3 separate regions of the Homo sapiens genome follow, and all the other regions are linked to region 1. The links are contacts of gene promoters, found by promoter capture Hi-C in blood cells and fetal thymus (Javierre and others, 2016). All regions are on one chromosome and are shown on one strand. Each heading gives the region's core, a stretch centred on a gene start or on the middle of the fragment in contact. The rest is flanking DNA. Distances are from core to core; before and after follow the strand shown. Region 1 holds the start of BPNT1 (3'(2'), 5'-bisphosphate nucleotidase 1). Region 2 overlaps ODR4 (odr-4 GPCR localization factor homolog). Region 3 holds the start of DHX9 (DExH-box helicase 9).

Region 1 (3,267 bases), core at 285-2,784:
TCATGTAATTATACAATTTAATTATAAAAACCAAAGTATGGCCAGGTGCAGTGGCTCATGCCTGTAATCTCAGCACTTTGGGAGGCCGAGGCGGGCGGATCATGAGGTCAGGAGTTCGAGACCAGCCTGGCCAACATGGTGAAACCCCGTCTTTACTAAAAAAAAAAAAAATGCAAAAACTAGCTGGGCTGGGTGGTGTGCGCCTGTAGTCCCAGTTACTCAGGAGGCTGAAGCAGGAGAATAGCTTGAACCCTGGGAGGCAGAGGTTGCAGTGAGCCGAGATCAAGCCATTGCACTCCAGCCTGGGCGACAGAGTAAGACGCCGTCTCAAAAAATATATATATGTATATATGTGTGTGTGTGTGTGTGTGTATATATATATATATATATATATATATATATATATATATGGTTAAAGTAATATAATTTAAGTTATGTATATTTTTCCACTTCCCAAAAAGGGTCTACTTAACTCACAGAGTTATTGTGAAAATCAAATGAAGACGTAAAAGCCTTTTTAAGCTGGGCGCAGTGGCTCACACCTGTAATCCCAGCACTTTGGGAGGCCGAGGTGAGCAGATCACCTGGGGTCAGGAGTTCAAGACCAGCCTGGCCAATATGATGAAACCCCGTCTCTACTTAAAAAACAAACAAAATTAGCCCGGCGTGGTGGCGCGCCTGTAGTCCTAGCTACTTGGGAGGCTAAGGAGGAAGGATCGCTTGAACCCAGGAGGAGGAGGTTGTAGTGAACCTAGACTGCGCCACTGCACTCCAGCCTGGGCGACAGGATGAGACACTGCCCCCTTCCCCAACCACGCCCCCCAGTAAAAGATCCCATCTGTACACAAAAAATATTTTAATTAGCTGGGTGTGGTGGCGCGCACCTCCACCAGTAGTCCCAGCTACACGGAAGGCTGAGGCGGGAGGATGGCTTGAGCCTAGAAGTGGGAAGGCAGCAGTGAGCCGTAATCGACTCTGGGCGACAGAGCAAGCTATCTATCGCTTAAAAAAAAAAAAAAAAAAAAAAAAAAAAAGGTAAGCAAGCATCTTTGACACAATTCTGCATAAAGTTGCTGTGTTATTGCGTGGGGAGTGGGAGGTGGAGGTGTGTGTGGTGGACCTGCTGAAGCCTGTCCACGGACCGCTAGGGGTTCGAAGTTAAATAGCCGCAGAGTGGTATCACTAATACAAAGAACATTTTAAAACAGTGAACTCTACGAAGTGGGCTGGAAGACAGCTGAAACCAAAACCAATCTTTTTTTTGTTTCAACACACTGTTGCTGGCTTAATGTGTTCTTTCCTTCTTCTTTTTCTTTTTTTAGCCAATCTTTGAAAGTTGACACATCTTTCGCTTTTATTTAATGCAACAGGTGACTTGCACCTACGGAGAGCTTGGAGAAAACACGGACAAGTGGAATTTTCCCGCGGATCAGGAGTCTAAAGAGGCAGTGTGAAATCGCTGTTGTGCGCTTGCGCGCAGTTTCCCGCATGCTCAGTAGCTGAGGTAGGGATGCCATCCTTCTCAAAAGACTTATTGACAGTGCCAAAGCTCGGTACTGGACACAACGAGGGACCTGGGTCTACGATAACGCGCTTTTGCTCCTCCTGAAGTGTCTTTGGTCCAACGTTGTTCCAGGTTTGTCACCGTTTCTCTCCGGCCGGTCAGGGCAAGAGCCAGGTAGATAGGATTTATGTTAAAAAAATAAAACGAAAAAGGTTTATGTGAATCAGATTGCTTCTCCAGATATTCTAACTTCCGACTTGGACTCTTGAGTGTCGATATTTTAATTGTTTATCTGTGCTTTTATTTTCGTGATCCGGAAGGTTTTTATAGCCATATACTGTAGAAACAAGACAAACCTAGACATTGAGTTTGTTGATGCACCCAAATTTAGAAACTGCTTGGTACCTAAAATTAAATTTCTTTAAACAGCAAATATTCTTCCAACTGCCATTTCTACATATTTATAGGTTTGCGTGATTTATTTGGATTTCTCTGTAAATATAATTGTTGGTTCAAAAGATACGTACTTTATACTTTTATTAAGGTTCTCAAAACTCTCCTAAGAGGGTTCACCGCTTTGCCAACAATGCTCAGGAACATGTTCCCTCACACCCTTGCAAACTGGACAAAGGACAAACTCTTCTTCTTTCTTCTTTTTTCTTCTTCTTCTTCCTCCTCCTTCCTCCTCCTTCTTTTTTTTTTTTTTTTTTTTTTTTCGAGACGGAGTCTCGCTCTGTCGCCCAGGCTTGAGTGCAGTGGTGCAATCTCGGCTCACTGCAAGCTCCACCTCCCAGGTTCACGCCATTCTCCTGCCTCAGCCTCCCGAGTAGCTGGGACTACAGGCGCCCACCACCAAGCCTGGCTAATTTTTTTTGTATTTTTAGTAGAGACGGGGTTTCACCGTGTTAGTCAGGATGGTTTCGATCTCCTGACCTCGTGATCTGCCCGTCTCGGCCTCCCAAAGTGCTGGGATTACAGGCGTGAGCCACCGCGCCCAGCCTTTCTTTCTTTCTTTTTTTTTTTTTTTTAAGACAGGTTCTAGCTCTGTCCCCCAGGCTGGAGTACAGTGGTGCCATTATGTCTCACTGCAACCTTGACCTCCCAGGGTCTGGTGATTCTCCCACCTCAGCCTCCCGAGCAGCTGGGACTACAGGCATGTGCCACCACACCATCTAATTTTTGCATTTTTTTGTAGAGACGAGGTTTTGCCATGTTGCCCAGGCTGGTCTCGAACTCCTGAGCTCAAGCAATACACCAGCCTTGGCCTCCCAAAAAGTTCTAGGATTACGGGTGTGAGCCACTGCATTCAGCGACAATTTTTTTTTTTTTTTTTTTTTTTGAGTCGGAGTCTCTGTCGCCCAGGCTGGACTGCAGTGGCGCGATCTCGGCTCACCACAACCTCTGCCTCCTATGTTCAAGCAATTTTCCTGCCTCAGCCTCCTGAGTAATTTTTGTATTACTATGCCTGGTTAATTTTTGTATTTTTAGTAGAGATGGGGTTTCACCATGTTGGCCAGGCTAGTCTTGAACTCCTAACTTCAGGTGATTCACCTGCCTTGGCCTCCCAAAGTGCTGGGATTACAGGTGTGAGCCACCGTGCCCTGCCAAATTTTCTTTTCTATGCCAATCTTAAAAATAAACAATCATGGCCCGGCGCGGTGGCTCACGCCTGTAATCCTAGCACTTTGGGAGGCTTAGGCAGGCCATGAGGTCGGAAGTTCGAGACCAGCCTGACCAACATGGAGAAACCCTGTCTCTACTAA
Region 2 (3,530 bases), core at 980-3,479, about 34 Mb after region 1:
TGTGTGTGTGTGTGTGTGTGTGTGTGTGTGTGTCATATACAATTTTATGAGAGACCAAAAGCAAAATTAGAGTAGAAAGTTATTTACAAACCATTGGGAATTTAACTTTACATTACTTAATATTTTCTTTAGAAGATAGTTGCCATGTTTGTCCCCTTAAACACCATGTTGAAATGTGAACCCAAGTGGGGCCTAATGGAAGGTGTTTGGGTCATGGGGCAGATCCCTCATTAATGGCTTGGTTCCATCCTCAGAGCAGTGAATGAGTTCTCGCTATATTTGTTCCTACGAGAGCTGGTTGTTAAAAAAAAAAGCCTAGCACCTCCCAACCCCTTGCTTCCTCTCTGGCCCAGTGATCTTTACACACCAGCTCCAATCTGCCTTCTGACATGAACAGAAGCAGCCTGAGGCTTTGACCAGATGCTCAATCTTGCAGCCAGCAGAATCATGAGCCAAACAGGCCTTTTTTTCTTTATAAATTACTCAGTCTTAGGTATTCCTTAATAGCCACCCAAACAGACTAAAACAATAATAATTAAATACTGGATTTCTTCGTTTTGTTTTGTTGAGACAGAGTCTCGCTTTGTCGCCCAGTCTGGAGTGCAATGGTGTGATCTTGGCTCATTGCAACCTCCGCCTCCCAGGTTCAAGCAATTCTCCTGCCTCAGCCTCCCAAGTAGCTGGGATTACAGGCACCTGCCACCACACCTGGCTAGTTTTTCATATTTTTACTAGAGACGGGGTTTCACCATGTTGGCCAGGCTGGTCTTGAACTCCTGACCTCAGGTGATCCACCCACCTTGGCCTCCCAAAGTGCTGGGATTACAGGCAAGATTTTATTTTTTTTTTAAATATAACTACACACTGCTCCATAATCAAACACATACACAGACACAAATATATGTCCATATATATATATATATATATCTACATACACAGAAACACGTTTGAGTTTAAAAGATTTAAAGATTTAAAGTTGATTGGAAAAGGAAATAAATCTTTTATTTATTAAAGAAAATTCTTTTTCTTAAAACAAACAAACAAAAACGCAGAATGTGCAAGTCTGTCACATAGGTTTACGTGTGCCATGGTGGCTTGCTGCACCTATTGACCTGTCCTCTAAGTTCCCTCCCCTCACCCCCAACCCCAGAAAAGGAAATAATTCTATTTTTACCTTATTCTAACATTATTTATTTGATGATATATAATTCATTCAATAAATACTTGTAAGTGAATTAATTTAGTCATTATTCCCACTCACCCATCCCAAATCTGTTTCTTCCTCGTGTAATGCCAACAGTATCCTCCTAGACACCCAGACTAAAAATCTCAGTCATCTTTAGCTACTTTCTCCCTATGTCTCTTCTCTCTACTCATTCACTAAATCTTCTTGATTCTAGCTCTTTTTTGAAATAAAACTTAAACATATAAACAAAAAAATAAGATAACCTGGCAGGCATGTTCTGTGGCCCATTCTTCATCCAAGTTATCCAACTTAGCTTTGGGATGTTTGAGGTTCTCACTTTGCTCCTCTTTGGGTGGCGTTCTAGTGGCAAGAATCACATAATCCTTTTGTGACGAACACTTCAACAACAAATTAAAAAGCTTGTTAGAGTGATATCTGATTCCTCAATCTAATTAGAGTGATACCTAAATTCCTTAGCTTTTATGACATGCAAAAACTGAGTAATATTTGTAACAGGTTAAATCATTAATACCCACATTATAATGGAAGCTAAAGGGAAGCTAATTTTCAAGGATGGCCTTACAATCTTTCCCTCACATGTTGTTTATCTTTTAATGTATTTAATATCAGCTTCTTATTTATTTGGACAACTCAAATGTAAATCATGGAGTGGTCCCTAAAAATGGTTTACTGGATGAGTGAATGAATTACATTAACTAAAAAGTAATATGCTTATTCAGTTTTCTAGTTATATTTGTTTTATAAGTTATAAATGAACAGATCGGAAAATATTAGTAAAATGAAACAACAAGTGACCTTTTGTATCTTATTTTAATTGAAATGATGACAGTAGGGAACTTCCACATACATTTCCACAGAATAACAAAGGGGATTTGGGACACAATTTAAAGTGATACAGATTCTATGTTCCTCAAGTTTTTTGTTTTGTTTTGTTTTTTGTTCTTTGTGTGTGTGTGTATTTATTTATTTATTTAGAGACAGGGTCTTGCTCTAATGCCCAGGCTGGAGTGCAGTGGTGTGATCATAGCTCACTGCAACCTTGCACTCCTGGGCTCAAGCAATCCTCCCCCCAAGTAGTCTCCCAAGTAGCTAGGACTACAGGCTCAAACAATCAGCCATAATGCCTGGCTTTTTTTTTTTTTTTTTTTTACTTTTTTGTAGAGACAGAGTCTTGCTATGTTGCCCAGGCTAGGTCAAACTCTGACCTTCAAGCAATCCTCCCACCTCGGCCTCCCAAAGCATTGGGATTACAGGCATGAGCCACCACACCCAATCTGTTCTTCAGCTGTAATATCAGTTAAGTAGTAACCAAAGTTGGGAGATCTAAAAATAAATGTAGGGGAACATTCAATAGCTCAGTTTCACTACAGTGAAAGTTTCCTATAAAAAAAGAGTGAAAATAACACTGCTAATGCAAGTTAGCATTGTATCTTCCCCACACATGACCTGAAACTCTGATCATTAGTATCATCTTGGGATAGAAAATAAGAGTAACTATTCCTACAGGTTATTTTCAGGAAGTTACATTCAAATAAACACAGGAAAAGAAAGTAGGTCTCAGTTAAGAAGGCTCCTCTTTTCTTCATAAAATGTATAACTTTGAAAAGAAAAAGAAACTGACAGAGACCAGGAAACAGGCAAGCTTAAGAGGAAGGAGAGGAAAAAGTAATGAACTCTGGAAGAAAAAGCACGTAGAATACTGAAAGGAATGAATTGCTCTGTCCGTGAGCAATACATACTACAGCATAAAAAGAGATAGAAGGAAGGCCTTAGGCCGGGCGCGGTGGCTCACGCCTGTAATCCCAGCACTTTGGGAGGCCGAGGCAGGCGGATCACGAGATCAGGAGATCGAGACCATCCTGGCTAACACGGTGAAACCCCGTCTCTACTAAAAATACAAAAAATTAGCCGGGCGAGGTGGCGGGCGCCTGTAGTCCCAGCTACTCGGGAGGCTGAGGCAGGAGAATGGCGTGAACCCCAGGGGGCGGAGCCTGCAGTGAGCCGAGATTGCGCCACTGCACTCCAGCCTGGGCGACAGCGAGACTCCGTCTCAAAAAAAAAAAAAAGAAGGAAGGCCTTAAATTATGAGACACTCATTTGTAAGATGGCAGTTTGCCTGAGCTTTAGAAACAACCTTTATCCAGTTAAGACAAATTTAGAAGAGGGTCTTTCTCCCTGACTTTTTATCTCTACTGATCACATCTTTCTCTAAGACTCTTCTTCTCTTAAATGTTTTAAACAAAGAGAAAGAAAAAAACTTAAATAGAAAACTCCTAACAAAAAGAGCCCCACATTACAACTGAATTAAAAAGAAATTCACACT
Region 3 (3,458 bases), core at 578-3,077, about 37 Mb after region 1:
GACAACAGGCGCCCGCCACCACGCCCAGCTAATTTTTTGTATTTTTAGTAGACACGGGGTTTCACCGTGTTGGCCAGGATGGTCTTGATCTCCTGACCTCTTGATCGGCCCGCCTCAACCTCCCGAAGTGCTGGATTACAGGCGTCAGCCACCGCGCCCGCCCGTCGTTTCTCTTTAAAGTCCAAAATTAAGTTCATCCAACTGTGGCACTAACTCACCCATTTGCATGCTAACTTGGCATCTCAGTCAAAACAGAATTTTAAATTTCCCCTCAAATCTGTTCCAACACCCTACCCCTACATTTCGGTTTCCATAAACGGTACGACATCCACCAAGTTACTCCTGGCACAAGTTGAGAGTCGTCCACTCCCTTAAGATTCTCCATAGCTATCCCTTGTAGAACCCTTAATGTGTGTCAAACAATATCCATAATAGATCATCTAAATGGAACTATTTTACTTAATCCTTAGTAACCTTGTACAGGTAAGATCACTATCCCTTTAGAGAAGGGGAAACTGAGACAAAGAATATCTTGCTTCAGGAAGACAGAGCTCCTAATTATAAGAGCAAGAATTCGGGCGGGCGCGGAGGCTCACGCCTGTAATCCCAGCACTTTGGTAGGCCAAGGCAGGCGGATCACGAGGTCGAGAGATCGAGACCATCCTGGCCAACATGATGAAACCCCGTCTCTACTAAAAATACAAAAATTAGCTGGGCGTGGTGGCGCGCGCCTGTAGTCCCAGCTACTCCGGAGGCTGAGGCAGGAGAATCACTTGAACCCGGGAGACCGACGTTGCTGTGAGCCGCCATCGCGCCACTGCACTCCAGTCTGGCGACAGAGCGAGACTCTTGCAAAAAAAAAAAAAAAAAAAAAGGCGCAAGAATTCCAGAAAACGTAGCCTGACTCCAGATCTACTACCTTCCACCACTACGCATTTCTGCTTCAAAATACGTCCCCTATCCATTCGTTTCTCCCCATCTCTCCTGCCACCACTACTGCACACCCGGGCTAGTGAAATATTGTCCTACACGGTTTTTGTTTCCACTCTTGCCACCCTAAAACCCATTCTCCTTTGAAGGCCTTCTCGCCACACTCCAGTCACATGGCCTGCTTTCAGCTCCCGCCCAGTTTCTGCCCTTAAGCGATAACTAATCCCTTCCGCTTCTGCAGGCTCTGCTTTTCCTTCGCGTTGGCCGAGGTTATCAGCTCAAAGCCTCCCTCCTTCGAGACGCCTTACCTCGCTATACTAGCCAAAGGCGCTCTCCCTTTACATTCTTCAATTTTTTTTCCTCTACCCACAAGGCCTGCACGACGGCGCCAGTTATTCGTGGCTTGAATGAATGAAGAGCCCTAGGCCAGTGGCGCCCCGGCGGCAACCACCACAGGCGAAGCACCCCCTTCCCTCAGCCGCCGCGGTGCCCCGGCGTACGCAGGCCAGAGGAGGAAGCGCGCTTTGCCTGCTAGAGGCAGCAGCGGGAAACGCTGGGCGGAGGAGAGGGGAGGGGGCCACAGGCTGCCCGGACGGCGCAAGCGCATCGCGGCGAGGCGCGCACGCAACCCGCAATCCGGGGACCCGCGGGCGGCTCGTCCCTTCCCCCACCCCCAGCCGCCGCCGCCGCCCGCGCTTCGCAACAAAGCCGGCTGCGGAGCCATGGTCCACGGCGCCCGCCCGCGACCCCGCCGCCCCGCATGGTAGCCGGAACGTCTCTCCCTTACCAGCCTTCGCTTCCTGGTGCCCAGCTCTTAGGACCGTGTGTGACTCTGGCCTTCTACCGAGACAACAGAGAAACGCACAGCAACTCGCATGGAGGAATCGGCGAAATGGCTCCGACCGCGGCGCTAGGGGGCGGGGCCAGCGAGCGTACGCATGCGCAGAGCGCGTGCCAGGGCGGGGGATGGCGAGGGCGCGCCAATGGAGGGGGCGGGGCTCAGCAACCTCGCGGCGCGGAAGGGTTTCGTTGCTAGGGAGATGGGCTGAGCCGGGCGGGCATCGCGCCAGACCTGCTACTCTGGATAATCCACTCTCCTGGATAATCCACTACCCTGGATAATCGGCTGCCCGCTTTTGCGCATGTTAGGGAGTTGACGGCCTGTAGCATTCTGATGCAGCAAAATATTTCGCAGGGTCTGTCATAGGGATCTCCGGTGAGAGGAGGTTCCCTTCGAAGGCAGAACTGGAAACCTTGCTGCTAACTTGGTAGGGTTGTTGAGATAATTACATGAGATGGCATATGAAGGGCGGCTTAGTTCAATACCTGGCATGTAGTAGGTGTTCAGTGGGCGTAGTTACCGGATTGATTCAGATAGTCTGAACGCCAGTGTCTCTTGAAAGAAATAAACTGGCCGGGCGTGGTGACTGTAATCCCAGCACTTTGGGAGGCCGAGGTGGGCGAATCACTTGGGGTCAGGAGTTTGAGACCAGCCTGGCCAGCGTGGTGAAACCCCGTTTCTACTAAAAAAAAAAAAAAAAATACAAAAATTAGCCGGGCATGGGGGCGGGCGCCTGCAATCCCAGCTGCTTGGGTGGCTGGGCGGGCTCCTGCAATCCCAGCTACTCGGGAGGCTGAGGCAGGAGAATCGCTTGAACCCCGGGGTCGGGGGCGGAGGCGGAGGTTGCAGTGGGCCGAGATCACGCCATTTTCTGGGCGAGAGAGCGAGACTCCGTCTCAAAAAAAAAAAAAAAAACCATGAAAGAAATAAGCTCAGTGAAGGCGGGCATTCTGCCTGGCTAACGCAGGTCGCTCCTTGCCGTGCCTGGAACATTACTGTAAGTGCTCAGCAAACTACTTTAAGGTAGGAATAAAATCTGCAAGGTTGCTTTTGTTTAAATTGGATAACCTTTTGTGTTCCAAGTCTTTGGAGTAATTTTGTGTTCCAAGTCTTTGGAATAATTGTGTCCTTAATTATTATACTAGTCACTGTTAAATTTTGAAACTCCAGTGCGTCCCATGAAGGTAATGATACAAAACATTTCCAGCTGGGATTGTTCCAGGGAATCCAGACTAATCAATTATCTGGGCTCATTATATCTATGGATCTTTATTTTTCACCTCTTTCCTTATGTTTTTCTTAATCCTTCTAGCTGATAGTGATCACTCCCTTTAAAACTGTCATTCTTAAAATCAGAACAACATAGTTTATCATTTACTTATTATTTTCTTCATGTGATTGTTCTCCTTAATTAAGAATAAAATCATTGAAGGAAAGACCTTAATTTTTTTTTTTTTGTACCCTTCAGGGTGTTGAAAGCAGCAGGGGCCTAGAAGACATTAAACCGATACCACAGAAATACAAAGGATCATTAGAGACTATTATGAACAACTATATGCCAACAAATTGGAAACCAAATGGAAATGGATAAATTCCTGAACAGATACAACTTACCAAAATTGGACCAAGAAGAAATAGAAAACCTGAAAAGACCAACTATGAGTAATGAGATTAAATCAGTAATATA

What was found. Contacts are between HindIII fragments. The CHiCAGO score rates a contact against its expected background, and 5 or more counts as called.
Region 2: a contact is called between a fragment that was not itself captured here and the fragment with the promoter of BPNT1 in region 1, in 1 of 17 cell types (total CD8 T cells). The highest score is 5.1, in total CD8 T cells.
Region 3: the fragment with the promoter of DHX9 here is called in contact with the fragment with the promoter of BPNT1 in region 1 in 1 of 17 cell types (naive CD8 T cells); the score reaches 5.5 in naive CD8 T cells.

What each region holds. Positions count from the first base shown.
Region 1 is chr1:220,088,055-220,091,321 of GRCh38, reverse strand. BPNT1 (3'(2'), 5'-bisphosphate nucleotidase 1) reads left to right here and starts at 1,534. Exons shown (of 9, transcript NM_006085.6): 1 at 1,534-1,636. RefSeq lists an enhancer at 1,234-1,423. The HindIII fragment of the contact is 18,631 bases long and covers 1-3,267 here.
Region 2 is chr1:186,381,076-186,384,605 of GRCh38, reverse strand. ODR4 (odr-4 GPCR localization factor homolog) reads right to left here. Exons shown (of 14, transcript NM_017847.6): 3 at 1,450-1,584. Among named protein-coding and RNA genes, the nearest start is that of ODR4, 7.0 kb to the right of the region's middle. The HindIII fragment of the contact is 1,244 bases long and covers 1,608-2,851 here.
Region 3 is chr1:182,837,716-182,841,173 of GRCh38, reverse strand. It overlaps DHX9 (DExH-box helicase 9), which reads right to left and starts at 1,827. Exons shown (of 28, transcript NM_001357.5): 1 at 1,718-1,827. DHX9-AS1 (DHX9 antisense RNA 1) reads left to right here and starts at 1,583. Exons shown (of 2, transcript NR_148933.1): 1 at 1,583-1,862; 2 at 3,240-3,458. RefSeq lists a silencer at 1,508-1,937 and an enhancer at 1,361-2,202. The HindIII fragment of the contact is 6,331 bases long and covers 1-3,458 here.